Linked DNA regions of Homo sapiens: region 1 is linked to region 2. The links are contacts of gene promoters, found by promoter capture Hi-C in human tissues and cell types (Jung and others, 2019). All regions are on one chromosome and are shown on one strand. Each heading gives the region's core, a stretch centred on a gene start or on the middle of the fragment in contact. The rest is flanking DNA. Distances are from core to core; before and after follow the strand shown. Region 1 overlaps ADGRE5 (adhesion G protein-coupled receptor E5). Region 2 holds the start of GIPC1 (GIPC PDZ domain containing family member 1).

Region 1 (7,432 bases), core at 442-2,941, 88 kb after region 2:
ATCTGTTTGGCCGGGGGATGGACATCGAGCGAGTCAACATCGTCTTTAACTACGACATGCCTGAGGACTCGGACACCTACCTGCACCGGGTGAGCAGCCTCACGGGCATGTTGCTTTCCCCTGGCGGTGGGGTGGGGCCCCAGCCCTGCTTTTCCTCAAGTCCTGAGGTAGTATCTGTGGCCTGACCCTGATCCTGTCTGCCTGCAGGTGGCCCGGGCGGGTCGCTTTGGCACCAAAGGCCTAGCCATCACTTTTGTGTCTGACGAGAATGATGCCAAAATCCTCAATGACGTCCAGGACCGGTTTGAAGTTAATGTGGCAGAACTTCCAGAGGAAATCGACATCTCCACATACAGTAAGTGCCTTGGGCAGGGCCAGGGGTCTGGGGCAGAGGGTTCCTCCCCCGGCCCTTCAGTTCACTGCATCTCATGTCTTACAGTCGAGCAGAGCCGGTAACCACCACGTGCCAGAGCCGCCCACCCGGAGCCGCCCGCATGCAGCTTCACCTCCCCTTTCCAGGCGCCACTGTTGAGAAGCTAGAGATTGTATGAGAATAAACTTGTTATTATGGAAGCCTGGCTCCCACCCCATCTATTTCTTGGTCATCTTGGCCTTTCACGGACACCCTGGGCCCGGCCTCTGAATCACCACCAGCAGGCAAGGCCATCTTCTGTATGCATGTGTTTAATTTTAAGTGTCAACACTGAAAAATTTTAACAGATAAAAACACATTACACAACGTCTACAACCTTCACAACAGTGAGAACCTCCTGCCCGGCCAGGCAGGGCAGGCCTCTGTACCGTGAGCCTCAGGCAGTGGCCCCAAGGGGCCTCGCCATGGGGCCTCTGACATCAGTCTTAGCTTAAGAGGGAAGCTGAGCCCCAGCGCCTAGTCTCTTCAGTTCTGCAGCAAAGACATGAGAGGAAAAGTCCAGGATGGGACAAGCGCCCTTAGTCTGTCCCGAGTACTGGCCACAGGTGCCAGGGCAACATGCTGCATTGCAGCCCTGGGCCAGCCCCTGTCCCCACCCTGGGTCACAAGGTGGAGCAGAGAGGCAGCCAGCAGCAGGACCAGTGGCTCCGACTCCACCCCACTGGGTGTCCTGGACTTTGGTGCCAGACTATAGCTGCCACTCCCTCCTGGTGGCACACGGGATCAGGGAGGGAGGGTGGAGGGAGTAGAGTGGTGGACGAAGGGAGGATGGATGGTCTTCGTGTACAAAGCTGCTGTGGCCACAGGAGCTGCTGGGCCGTCCAGAACCATGCGCCTTCATATGCCGGACTCTGATGCCCTGAGGGCCTGGAGAGGAGAGCCCAGAGGCCTGAGCCCCGCTAGCCCTGGTGCCTTCCTGCCCACACCCGCCCCAGGCGCAGCCCCTTACCCGGGTCTGATTGTGGCCAGTGCCAGACGTGGTGGAGGTGAATTCTGAGTACTTGCTCCCCCCAGCAACTAGGCAGGCCCACTTCCGGTATTCTTCCCGAACCTGCCGGCCCAGACACCAAGTCAGGGCAGGAGCAGGCCCTGGGACCATGCACGCTCCTCCCCATGCTCTGCCCTCAGCCCCACCTTCTTGGTGTTTTTGTGTTTGTCTTTTTTTTGAGATCGGGTCCCCCTGTCACCCAGGCTGGAGTGTAGTGGCACCATCATAGCTTACTGCAACCTTGAACTCCTGGGCCCAAGTGATCCTCTTGCCCCAGCCTCCTGAGAAGCTGAGATGGGTATTCAGCACACCCGGCTTTTTTTTTTTTTTTTGGAGACAAGTCTCACTGTCACCCAGGCTGGAGTGCAATGGTGCCATCTTGGCCCACTGCACTCCTGGTTCAAATGATTCTCCTGCCTCAGCCTCCCAAGTAGCTGGGACTACAGGCGTGTGCCACCATGCCTGGCTAATTTTTGTATTTTTAGTAGAGACAGGGTTTCACCATGTTGGCCAGGCTGGTCTTGAATTACTGACCTCAGGTGATCTGCCCACCTCGGCCTCCCAAACTGTTGGGATTACAGGCGCCTCACCCTGGCTATCTTTGAATTTTTTTGTAAAGACAGCATCTGGTTATGTTGCCCAGGCTGGTCTCCAACTTCTGGGCTCAAGCAATCCTCCCACCTCAGCCTCCCAAATAGGTGGGAGGATGACAGGCGTGCGCCACTGTGCCCAGGCCCCCACCTTCTTGTTGAGCAGGCAGTGCAGCAGGTAGAGGAAGGCGCCCTGCAGGCAGTTGAGGATGGTAAACACATAGGTCAGCACCAAGCTCCGATCGTCGAAGATGAACAGGCCAAAGACCCAGGTGCAGCCCAACAGGAAGAGCTGCGCGATGGCCGTGATGGTCAGCGCCCTGCGAGGAGCGGGGTTGCAGCGTGGGCCCCCACCTCACCTCCAGCTTCATGCCCCTCACCCCGGCCCCGCCTCCAAGTCCTTCCAGCCTCTCCTCTCACCTCGCCTTCTTTAATTTCTTCATGTCTGGATTGATTTCAGAAAACTTCTGAGTGAGCTTCCAGACGGTAGTCACGAAAATGACAGCATTGCACTGGGCAGGGAGCAGATTGTGGGTTAGAGGGCGAGAGCGATGGTCCAGCCGGGCCTGGGCCTGTGGCGCTCGGGCTTCGGTGGAGGGAGAGTGGGTACTTACCAAAATGATGAAGGTCACAGGTCCCAAGAAGCTCCAGAGGAAGCCCTGCTCAAAGTCCAACCAGCAGCTAGGAGGGAAGGGAGGGGTCCCATCAGTGCCCCAGGAAGCCAGGAGCGGAACGGAGGGCGGCCGGACATTGTGTGTGGCACTGCCTGTGAGCCCCAGGCCCAGCACCCCGCCTTCCTCCTGCCCCATCTCGCTGCACTCACTATCTGGGGCGGCCGTAGCCCTTGCTGTAGATGGCAGCCGAGACGCCCACGATGAGCAGGGGCACGCCATAGCCGATCAGGCAGAGCCAGCGCGTACTCAGGCCCTGGCCTTGGAACACGCGCACCACAAGAAAGTAGAGCTCCAGGCCTTCGAGGCTCATCCAGCAGAAGGCGGCCAGGAAACAGTAGTGCAGCAGCCCGGCCACCAGGCGGCAGCGCAGCCCCACCTGCGGGGCGGGGACGGAGGGGCGGAGCGACGTCAGCGCGGGGAGGGGCATGCGGCGCCAGAGCCAGTCGCCTGCCAGGTCCCGAGAGTGGGCGGGACCACAGCCGGAGGGTGGGCGGGTCTGGAGCGGGGGCCAGGTTTCCCCCCAGGGCCCACCCCCAACAACGCTCAGAAGCGAGCGGGCACTCGGGGTGTGGCCAGGCAGCTCCAAAGCCAGCGCCCTTTAAAGAGACAACCCGACCCCCCGGTGGGCGGGGCCAGATCCCGGACAGGGGCGGGGCCTCATGCCTCCAGGGCCCGCCTACCCGACTGAGCCCCGGGAGTGGGCGGGGCTAACCCCTCCCAGGCCTCCCTGACCCCAGAGCTCAGGAGGGAGCGGGGCGGGACCTCACCTGGCCGCCTTCGTTCTCGATGCCGGCCAGGAAGATGGTGGAGCCCACGAAGAGGCAGATGCAGAGGTGCAGGTGTATGGTGGTGCGCGAGCCCTGGATGGGCCGCACCAGCAGGAAAGTGAGGATGCACAGCAGCAGGCAGAAGAGTGACAGCGCCAGTCCCACCCTGGTGATCAGGGTCAGCTTCCAGTCCTAGGAGTGGCACCGGGTGCTCAGGGTTCCTTCAGGGCATGAGGCCTTCCTGCCCTCTTTGTGGTCCCTTTTCCCCCCCACACTTTGACGGGCCCACCTCTCTGACCTCCTCCCTTGTCCCTCCTAGATCTGGCCACACTTACCAGCTGGAAGGGGAGTCTAGGGATTTCACATTTTTGTGCTTGCTGGGCCTTTGGCCTGGACCACAGGCGCCCCCCTTCTCTGCCTGGTTAATTGCAGTTTTCGACAAGGCCCAGCTTAACGATGGATCCTACTGAAGTCACGTACAGAAAGTGGTGCTCCAGGCTGGGTGTGGTGGCTCATGCCTCTAATCCTAGCACTTTGAGAGGCTGAGGGGGGGCAGATCACCTGAGGTCAGGAGTTCGAGACCAGCCTGCCCAACATAGTGAAACCCCGCCTCTACTAAAAATACAAAAATTAGCGGTGCATGGTGGCATGCACCTGTAATCCCAGCTACTTGGGAGGCTGAGGCAGGAGAATCGCTTGAATCCGGAGGCGGGGGTTGCAGTGAGCCAAGATCACACTACTGCACTCCAGCCTAAGCGATAGAGCAAGACTCTGTCCAAAAGAAAAAAAAAAAGAGGCCGGGTGCGGTGGCTGACACCTGTAAGCCCAGCACTTCGGGAGGCCGAGGTGGGTGGATCACCTGAGGTCAGGAGTTTGAGACTAGCCTGGGCAACATGGTGAAACCCTGTCTCTACTAAAAATACCAAAAATTACTCAGGCATGGTGGTGCACGCCTGTAATCTCGGCTACTCGGGAGGCTAAGGCAGGAGAATCCCTTGAACCTCACTAGCTGAGATTGTGCCACCATACTCCAACCTGGGCGACAGAGACTCCGTCTCAAAAAAAAAAAAAAACGGGCAAGTGGTGCCCCCTTGGAATGCTCTCCATGGGGAGCTTTTAGTTGACATCTCACAACTGGTACGGGATGGACAGGCAGAGGAGCGGAGCTAGTGGCTGCACCCAGTGTATAGTTGCTGGGTTGTAGAGAAGAGGCCAAAGGAAGAGGCTGCGAAGGGTGTGACGTGGGGACACCTGGGCTGTGCAACCATGCAGATATATCTGAGCAACCAGTAGGGCTCCATGGAGAACTAGCTGCCTGTCTGGTTGCAGCTGGACCTCATTACCTGTGGGCACTTGAGGATGCCTCCAGCTACTTACCTCCACGTCATAATGAGCCATAAGGATCGCAAAGCTGCTCAGGTGGCTGCATTGGCAGGTGGTGCTGCCGTTCTTGCTGCCCAGCACCTGGCAGCCCTCGGTGGCCCAGTGCCCTCCCCTGTCGCTGTCACTCTTCCAGAAGGCACAGAGCAGCTCCTGCCGTGGCCCAGGCATCACGTCCTGTGGGCAGATGGGGGTGGTCAGAAAGGTTGGCCTGGAGCTCACTCTTAGGTCCTGGGCTTGGGCTGAGTCTAAGAGGGCTGCTTTTTACTAGATGAGTATTGACCGAGCGCCTACTGAATGTAACAGGTTTGGAGACACAGCAGTGAACAGGGCACACACAAGTACCTACCCTTGTGAGGTTGACATAAGAGTGGGAGAGGTGGCCAGGCATAGTGGCTCATGCCTGTAATCCCAGCACTTTGGGAGGCTGAGGCAGGCGGATCACCTGAGGTCAGGAGTTTGAGACCAGCCTGGCCAACATGGCGAAACCCCGTCTCCACTAAAAAATACAAAAATTAGCTGGGCCTGGTGGCAAGCACCTGTAAATCCCAGCTACTTGGGAGTCCTGGGCAGGAGAATCGCTTGAACCTGGGAGGTGGAGGTTGCACTGAGCCGAGAATGAGCCACTGCACTCCAGCCTGGATGACAAGAGTGAAACTCCATCTCAAAAAAAAAAAAAAAAAAAAAAAAAAAAAGTGGGAGAGGCAGATTATGACATAAACCTAACGAATAAGTAATGTAGATAGTGCATTAGAAGGTGGCCAGGGATGATGATGGCTCTTGCCTGTAAGTAATTCCAGGACTTTGGGAGGCCAAGGTGGGAGGATCGCTTGAGGCCAGGAGTTTGAGACCAGCTGTGGCAACATAGCGAGACCTCCATCTCCATTAATTTTTTTGTTTTTAATTAACTGGGCATAGTAGTGCACGCTTATAGTCCCAGCTACTCAGGAGGCTGAGGTGGGAGGATCACTGGAGCCCAGGAATTCTAGACCATCCTGGGAAAAATAGTGAGGTCCCCGTCTCTATCAAAAATAAAAAAATTAGCTGGGAGTGGTGGTGCATGCCTGTAGCCTCAGCTACTCAAAACTCTGAGGCTGGAGGAATGGTTGAGTTCAGGAGTTCGAGGTTGCAGTGAGCTATAATCGCGCCACTGCACTCCAGCCTGGGCCACAGAGTGAGACCCTCCTGTCTAAAAATATAAATAAATAAGAAAAGAAAGTCTGGGAGTGGTGGCTCACGCCTGTAATCGCAGTACTTTGAGAGGCCAAGGCGGGCAGATCACCTGAGGTCGGGAGTTTGAGACCAACCTGACCAACATGGAGAAACCCCGTCTCTACTAAAAATACAAAATCAGCGAGGTGTGGTGGCGCATGCCTGTAATCCCATCTACTTGGGAGGCTGAGGCAGGAGAATCACTTGAACCTGGGAGGCAGAGATTGCAGTGAGCCGAGAACGTGCCACTGCACTCCAGCCTGGACGACAGAGTGAGACTCTGTCTTAAAATAAATAAATTAATTAATTAAATTAAATAAATAAAGTAAGGAAATAAATAAGTAATGAGGTTGGGGAAGGCCCAAATCAGAAGGCCAGAAACATAAAAGACTGAGTCACGTCGGGAAAGAGCATCCCAGAGAGAGGCCCAGCATGTGCGAAGGCCCTGGGTTATCTTTGAGGAAGTGAGCAGAGTGAGCAGAGACCTTGGCAGGAGGGTCTCTTCCCGCCTCCCCATCGGAGGACTCAAGGTGGGAGAAGGCGAAAAGGATGGGGGAGTTGAGTTCCTTGGTGTTGTTGTGGCTCAGAAAGATGGAGTTGACGGCAGAGAGGCGTCTGAGTTGGACACCACGGATGCTGCTTTCATATATCTCCTCCAGTTCGGCTTGCTTCTTGGAATGCAGGTTCAAGGAGGCATTGGCCAGCAATGTCGTCATGTTCTGGATGGAGAGGATGCCCGCCACGGCGGGGCCTGGGGAACAGACACACTCGCTGCCTACTCCCGTTGTCCTCCTCCCATGCTCTATCCTCCCTCCCAAGATGACCCAGCTCAGGCTCAGCCAGTCCACCACGATGACGCCAGGAGCCCCTCCCGATGAGTCAGTTTCTAGTTGTTCCTTGTTTTTTTTTTTTTGAGACGGAGTTTCGCTCTTTCGCCCAGGCTGGAGTGCAGTGGCGTGATCTCAGCTCACTGCAACCTCCACTCCCCAGGTTCAAGCAATTCTTCTGTCTCAGCCTCCCAAGTAGCTGGGATTATAGGCACCTGCCACCACTCCCAGCTAATTTTTGTATTTTTAGTAGAGATGGGGTTTCACCATCTTGGCCAGGCTAGTTTTGAACTCCTGACCTCGGGTGATCCATCTACCTCAGCCTGCCAAAGTGCTAGGGTGCTAGGACTACAGGCATGAGCCACTGTGCCTGGACTTTTTTTTTTTTTTAAGACAGGGTCTCACTATGTCGTCCAGGCTGGAGTGCTTTGGCGTGATCATAGCTCACAGCAGCCTTGACCTCCCGGGCTCAATTGATCCTCTCGCTTCAGCCTCCTGAGTAACTGGGACTACAGGCACGTGCCACCACACCTGGCTAATTTTTGTATTTTTTGTAGAGAC
Region 2 (7,396 bases), core at 779-3,278:
ACTGCAGCCTGGGTGACAGAGTGAGGCTCCGTCTCAAAAAAACAAACAAACAAACAACAACAACAACAAAAATTAGCCAGGTGTGGTGGTACATGCCTGTGGTCCCAGCTACTCGGTAGGCTAAGATGGGAGGATTACTTGAGCCTAGGAGGTGGAGGTTGCAGTGAGCTGAGATCCTGCCACTGCATTCCAGCCTGGCCAACGGAGCTAGACACTGTCTCAAAAAAAAAAAAAAAAAAATTCAGAAAGGAGGTGCCCAGTGCTGCTCTGTGTCTTGAGCAATCCCACAATCCCATCACCCCTTCTCCGGGCACTTCCTCATCAGGAAACAGGAGCCAGTTGGAGTCTGGCTCAGGACTCTGCAGCCTCAGTCATGCTGTCCCCTGGGCTCAGCATCCCGTCCTCTCCAAGTGTGCAGGGGGCAGCTTAGATGCCAGGCTCAAGCAGGGCAGGCAGCACAGTCCCACAGAGGGTACTGGCCAGCCCAGGCAACTGATTGCTCAGTGGGATGGCAGAGGTCAGCAGAACAGGAAGGGACGGACAATAGCTGTGCCTGTTGCCTGGCCTGCCACAGCAATCTCGGTGTTTGCCAGCTGGGTGGGGCTGGCTAGGCAATCCTCAGCAGCAAAGCTCAAGGTTCCATCTCCCATTTTAGTTTGCCCCTCTGCAGGTCCTGGTGGGACTGATATGCACAACATCTCACCCTGGGAACTGCAAAGAACCAGTCTTTCTATGGAGCTTGAGCAGGGTCTCAGCACTTAGAGGCTTCCAGGAACTACAGTTCCCAGAACACACAGCATTCAGCCCCAGTTGCTGTCCAAGTGGCTGGGTTTGAACTAGAACAAGGAAATCTCACTTGTCCCGGGAACTGAGCGTCCTGGCCTGGTCCAGGTGCATTTGTGACTCTTGTTTCTTGGATCTGTGTCCACCTGATAAATCCCCCTTCCTTATAAACTACATGGTCTATTTGTCCACACAGGTTTGCTGAGAACCTGCCGTGTGGCAGCCTGAGGTGGGAGTGAGGGGTTGACAAGAGAGACTCAGCCTCCACCCTCACAGTCAGATGGAGGAGACAGATCTATGAAAGGCTGGCTGGGTACCTTCTGTGACCTAGCACATAAACAAACCAACAAGCAGATAAACTATCTCACCCTTGTCTTTCATTGCATCTTGCCTTTCCACACTGATTTACTAGCTCCCACGATATTGCAGTATCCTAAAGCGTGCTGTATCTCTCTGTCCGGCTTTTGCACGCTCTGTTACCTCTACCAGGAGCACATTCAGCTTATTCACTGACGCGTCTTCAGAGGTAGGACAGAGTCTGGCACGGAGCAGTCTGGCACATTAAATATTTGATGAGTGAGTGAACGAATGAATGAATGAATGCCTTTGTCCATTGTACAGCCCAGGAAGCAGGGAAACTCGGGACCCTCCCTATTCATCTCGATCCCCCGCCCGCCCCCAGAGATTGAATGCATCTTTTTATCCGCTCCGAGGATGGCCAGGCTGGGGCAGAGGAGGCCGGGCAGGGAACTGGGTTGGGGACTGCCATTGACCCCCACCCAGGTCTCCTAAACTGTCCGCTTTCCTGGACGTCGGAAGTTCGAATCCTTTCCCCGAAACCTGGCCTAGGTCACCTGACTCCCCCGCCCCTCACCACCCAGGGCACCCGAGACTGACACTCAGCCGACAGCACGTGGTTCAGGGGCCCCAGCTTCCTTCCCATTGGCCGCTTGTCTCCTTCCTCCCTCGCGATTGGCCGGGGCCCAGCTGCAGCTCCCCCCCCTCCTCAGCCCTCCGGTGGTACAGCCAGCCGCGGCTTAGGCGGGGCGGAACGGTCCACTGCTTCGCGGCGAGGGGAGGAGTCGGGAAGAGCCGGGCGAGGCGGAGGGATCCCTCTGGAATGTTTCCGTCGGGTCCACCCGAAGCGGAAGACGCGGATTGGCTGCGAGCACCGAGAGGCAGCCGCTGATTGGCCGGCCGCGGGCGTCGGCCCCGCCCCCCAGGCGCCGCTGCGGGAGAGGCCCGGTCTGGAGTTTGCGGAGGGCCGAGCCGGGTGCGCACGGGGAGGCGGAGGCAGCGGCGGCGGCGGCGGCGGCGGCGGCGGCGGCGGAGCAGGTGAGTGGCCTCTGCGAGAAGGATGTGTCTGCTCCGGGGGCCTCGGGGGTCGCGGGCCTGCGAGGATCCGGCCGATCCTGCAGGGTGGGGCCGGCGCCGTGGACGCGACTGGAGGTCTAGGCTGCGCGCGGGGATGCCGGAGGCCCCTTCCCAGGGGAAGCGGGGGTGGGGGGTGGTGGGGGCAGCTCCCTTCCTGCTGGCGGGCAGGGGACAAACGCCTCCCAACGCTGGGCTGGGGTTTCTGGGCTTGCCCCTCCCCCCGTCCCCCGGCTGGACTGTCCCCATCCCAGCGTGGACAGGCGCGGGGTCAGTGTTTCTGACCCTTTCCTGGGCACTTCCCCTGAGCTAACCGCGTCTGAACCCTCCAGGGCCTTGGGGGGGACGCAGTGAGGACCACGGTCTGAATAATAATCGTCATGAAAAACTCCACCTCAGCTAGCATTTATTGGAGAGCTTCCGTGTCAGGCATTTACCATGAGGATAATTGACTCTAAACACCTCATGGGAGGTGCTGTGCCTTCTTGTAAAAAAGGTGAGGCAGCCTACCCAGAGAGGTGGAGTGACTTGCCCAAGGTCACACAGCTAGTAACTGGCACATCTGGGACTGGAACTCATGCCCCAGGGTCCAGAACTGGAGTCACACCCACTAGACTGGATACCAATAACTCCACGGCTCAGTTGTTGCTGAGTAGCTCCGGCCCCCTACCCCTCCCACCCCCTACCCCGTACTCATCATCAGGGCCACACCTGCTGGTCTTTTGCTTTACCAGCCACTCAAACAGGAAGCTGCCCTCCTTTCCCTTCTCCCCAGAGCTGGAGAGGGCAGGTCTAACTACCTGGGTCCAGAGAAGAGAGTGGCGTCTGCAGGGGGCCAGGATGCTGGGGTCTGGGCCCACTGGGTTCCCCCCTGGCAACCTGGGCCGAGGCTGGGAAGTAGGCGTTCTCCCCGGAAACACCCAGGAGCCGGTTTTTCAAGAGTGAATCAGAGGCCTCTTTCCCTCCTTCTCTCCAAAGCAACACTGTGCTGGAACGGGGAGCCTGGGCGTGGTTTCCCCCTTCCCCTAGCTTCTGTGTGCTCCCAGGAACCCCCTTCCCCTCCTCCTGCTGGCCACACTGCTTCTGTGTGGCCGTGGGGTTGCTAAGTTTCAGGCCCTTCCCAGGATGAGGGGGTGAGGATGCTGAAATTCCAGCCCAAACACTCAATATCCGGGCTGAAGTGGCTCTTCATCTCTGTGTTCAGGTGTGAGGGGAGCCAGGGAAAGTGGGGAGCCTAGGACAGTTGGCAACCGCACAGCAGGCATGTTTAGGGGGCTGTTTCAAGGATGGGGAGCACAGAGAGCAATCAGAACGAGGACCTGAGACACATTCATTCACTCAGTCTACAAATATTTAGTGAGCACCTGCTACGTGCATGTGCTAGGCACTGTTCTTGGCACAGAAAATGCAACAGTGAACAAAACAAAATCCCTACTTTTGAGGAGTTGGCACTCTGAAAGGAAGGAAGCAGCCAACAAACAAGTTAGCAAGTAAATAAAGAAGATAATTTCAGATGGCACTAACTGCTATGAATAAAATATGAGCGGGTGGTACTGTAGAGAGTAGTTGTGGGCAAGGGGTGCCAGCCCAGCAAAGATCAGGCAAGGGGGCCCGGGCGCGGTGGCTCACGCCTGTAATCCCAGCACTTTGGGAGGCCGAGGCGGGTGGGTTGCTTGAGGTCAGGAGTTTGAGACCAGCCTGGCCAACATGGGGAAACCCTGTCTCTACTAAAAATACAAAAATTGGCTAGGGGCATGGCTCACCCCTGTAATCCCAGCACTTTGGGAGGCTGAGACAGGTGGGTCAAGAGGTCAGGAGTTTGAGACCAGCCTGATCAACATGGTGAAACCCCCTCTCTCCTAAAAATATGAAAATTAGCTGGGTGTGGTGGCGCACGCCTGTAAGCCCAGCTACTCAGGAGGCTGAGGCAGGAGAATCGCTTGAACCCGGGAGGCGGAGGTTGCAGTGAGCTGAGATCGTGCCACTGCACTCCAGCCTGGGCTACAGAGCGAGACTCCATCTCAAAAAAAAATAAAAATAGGCCAGGCGTGGTGGCTTATGCCTGTAATCCCAGCACTTTGGGAGGCCGAGGCAGGCAGATCACCTGAGGTCAGGAGTTCAAGACCAGCCTGACCAACATGGAGAAACCCTGTCTCTACTAAAAATATAAAATAAGCTGGGCGTGGTGGCACATGCCTGTAATCACAGCTACATGGGAGGCTGAGGCAGGAGAGAATCGCTTGAACCCGGTAGGCAGAGGTTGCGGTGAGCCAAGATCGCGCCATTGCACTCCAACCTGGGCAACAAGAATGAAACTCCGTCTCAAAAATAAATAAATAAATAAAAATAAACAAATACAAAATAAAAATACAAAAATTAGCCGGATGTGGTGGTGCGTGCCTGTAATCCCAGCTACTCAGGAGGCTAGGGCAGAAGAATCGTTTGAACCCAGGAGGTGGAGGTTGCAGTGAGCTGAGATGGCGCCACTGCACTCCAACCTGGGTGACAGAGCAAGACTCCATCTCGAAAAAAAAAAAAGAGAGAGAGATGGGCAAGGCCAAGGTCTTTAGGCTGGACCAAGTTTGGAATCACATGGTTGGAGCAGAAGATGAACCCAGAGCAGCGATTCTGCAGGGGTTTGTGGGTCACAGTAAGGAGATTGCAGTTTTTCTTCCAGAAGGTGGGAAACTGTTGTAAAGTTTCAGGCAGGGCAGTGATGCCATCTGGTTTACGTTTTAAAATAGAGACATGAAGTTAAATGACAGCCTGAAGCTGGAAGACAAGAGTTCTGCCAGGGCAGCATGCAATTAAGTTCATGGGCCTGAGCCATCTGTACCACAGGGGCAGTTCCAGCATGCTGGGGCAAGCCTGGGAGGCTTCATGGAGGAGTGGGCCTGGAGTAGGTATTGGCAGGCAGAGAGGGTTGGGATATTCCTGGGCAGGGCAGGGCAGAGGAGGAGACACCCATAGTAATGACAACAGCGTCCTTAAATGGAGTCTGAGGCAGAGTGTAGATGGGATACGTGGGTAATCTCTTTGGATTTCCACAACCACCTTGAGAGTGACAGGAATTCCACCCATTTTTCAGATGAAGAAACTGAGGCCCTGTGATGTGAAGTGACTTGCCCCCCAGCCACACAGCTGGTAAGTGGCAGGGGTGGGATTTGAACCCAGGCCACGAAGCCTCTTATGGCCGTGGCAGGCAGATTCATTACTCACTCACTTTCCTCACTGCTGTTAATGCCTCCTCACGGGTGGGGACACGGAAGCTGGCATGAACCAGGGCAGTGGGGTGGGCAGAGAGAGAGAGTAAGGAGGCTGGGAATTGGTGGTCAGGATGTAGGGATCTTGGGAAAAGGAGGAAGCTTGAATCTTGGTACAGATGGCAGTAGCAAGGCCGGGTGCAGTGGCTCACGCCTATAATCCCAGCACTTTGGGAGGCCGAGGCAGGTGGATCACGAGGTCAGGGGATCGAGACCATCCTGGCTAACATGATGAAACAGCGTCTCTACTAAAAATACAAACAATTAGCTGGGCATGGTGGCGGGCACCTGTAGTCCCAGCTACTCGGGAGGCTGAGGCAGGAGAATGGCGTGAACCCGGGAAGCAGAGCTTGCAGTGAGCTGAGATCGTGCCACTGCACTCCAGCCTGGGCAACAGAGCGAGACTCCGTCTCAAAAAAAAAAACAAAAGATGGCAGTAGCAGTAATTGTCACCAATATTTATGCAACCCTTATTGTGTGCCAGGACTGTTCCAAGCACATGCATGATTTCCTTGGAGCTCAGAGAGGTTAAGACCCTTGCCCAAAGTCACACAGCTATTAAGAGATGAAGCCAGGTTCCAGATTCATGTTTTTAGTTTCCTGCCTCCCAGTGCGTAGAGCTGGCGGAATTGGAGGGATGATGAGGGGTCTTTTCTTTTTTCTTTTTTTTGAGATGGAGCCTCACTCTGTCACCCAGGCTGGAGTGCAGTGGCACGATCTTGGCTCACTGCAAACTCCACCTCCCGGGTTCATGCCATTCTCCTGCCTCAGCCTTCCGAGTAGCTGGGACTGCAGGCGCCCGCCACCACGCCTGGCTAATTTTGAAAATATATGGCTGGGCGTGGTGGCTCATGCCCACCTCGGCCTCCCGGAGTGTTAGGATTACAGGCGAGAGCCACCACACCCGGCCGACACTGATTTTTCTTTCCAGCGAGGTCAGAGCCCGGGGAGGGGTCAGAGCAGAGACAAATGCGACATGACTTATGTTTTACAGGACCATTCTGGCTGCTGTCTGGACAAGAAGTCGTAGGGGGTGAGGGTGGAAGCTGGGAAACCCACAGGAGGCAACCACACTAGTTTAGGTAAGTGATCATGGAGATGGACCAGGTGAGATGAGAGGGTGTGTTAGGGGACAGACGAATGGATGCATGAACAAATGGATACATGAGACTAGGTGCAGGCTGGGTGCAGTGGCTCACACCTCTAATCCCAGCACTCTGGGAGGCCAAGGTGGGCGAATCACCTGAGGTCAGGAGTTCCAGACCAGCCTGGTCAACATGGAGAAACCCCATCTCTACTAAAAATACAAAAATTAGCCAGGTGTGGTGGCACGCACCTGTAATCCCAGCTACTCAGGAGGCTGAGGCAGGAGAATCGCTTGAACCTGGGAGGTGGAGGTTGCAGTGAGCCGAGATCGCGCCATTGCACTCCAGCCTGGGTGACAGAGTGAGAGTTCATCTCAAAAAAAAAAAAGATTGGATGCGGCCAAGCTGAATCCAGCATGGCCCCCTGGAAGAGACCATTGGATAGGAGGCACCAGGAAGTCCCTTTTACATAAGAAAATATAGGCTGAGCGCAGTGGCTCACACCAGCCTTCTTTGGCTCACACCATGTTGGCCAGGCTGGTCTCAAACTCCTGACCTCAGGTGATCCACCCGCCTCGGCCTCCCAAAGTGTTGGGATTACAGGCGGGAGCCACCGTCCCTGCACCCGGCCTAACTAATGTATTTTCTTTCTTTCTTTCTTTCTTTTTTTTTTTTTTTGAGATGGAGTCTCGCTCTGTCACCCAGGCTAGAGTGCAGTGGCATGATCTCGGCTCACTGCAAGCTCCGCCTCCCGAGTTCACGCCATTCTCCTGCCTCAGCCTCCCGAGTAGCTGGGACTACAGGTGTGTGCCACCACGCCCAGCTAATTTTTTTTGTATTTTTAGTAGAGACGGGGTTTCACTGTGTTAGCCAGGATGGTCTCGATCTCCTGAC

Evidence for each region. Contacts are between HindIII fragments. The study calls those that stand out against the background at their distance.
Region 1: a contact is called between a fragment that was not itself captured here and the fragment with the promoter of GIPC1 in region 2, in 2 of the 25 tissues and cell types used here (dorsolateral prefrontal cortex and spleen).

The regions. Positions count from the first base shown.
Region 1 is chr19:14,401,960-14,409,391 of GRCh38, reverse strand. It overlaps ADGRE5 (adhesion G protein-coupled receptor E5), which reads right to left. Exons shown (of 20, transcript NM_078481.4): 12 at 6,530-6,795; 13 at 4,830-5,009; 14 at 3,453-3,644; 15 at 2,835-3,061; 16 at 2,626-2,692; 17 at 2,432-2,523; 18 at 2,163-2,331; 19 at 1,383-1,484; 20 at 669-1,300. The coding sequence ends at 1,271. It overlaps DDX39A (DExD-box helicase 39A), which reads left to right. Exons shown (of 11, transcript NM_005804.4): 9 at 1-89; 10 at 208-355; 11 at 440-594. The coding sequence ends at 456. Among named protein-coding and RNA genes, the nearest start is that of DDX39A, 14 kb to the left of the region's middle. RefSeq lists enhancers at 96-145, 1,366-1,595, 2,978-3,607, 3,741-4,035, 3,608-4,237 and 1 more and a silencer at 2,944-3,463. The HindIII fragment of the contact is 6,072 bases long and covers 1-4,727 here.
Region 2 is chr19:14,490,759-14,498,154 of GRCh38, reverse strand. It overlaps GIPC1 (GIPC PDZ domain containing family member 1), which reads left to right and starts at 2,028. Exons shown (of 9, transcript NM_005716.4): 1 at 2,028-2,118; 2 at 5,243-5,298; 3 at 6,412-6,499. RefSeq lists enhancers at 7-506, 1,787-2,713 and silencers at 1,695-1,754, 1,895-2,124. The HindIII fragment of the contact is 12,252 bases long and covers 1-7,396 here.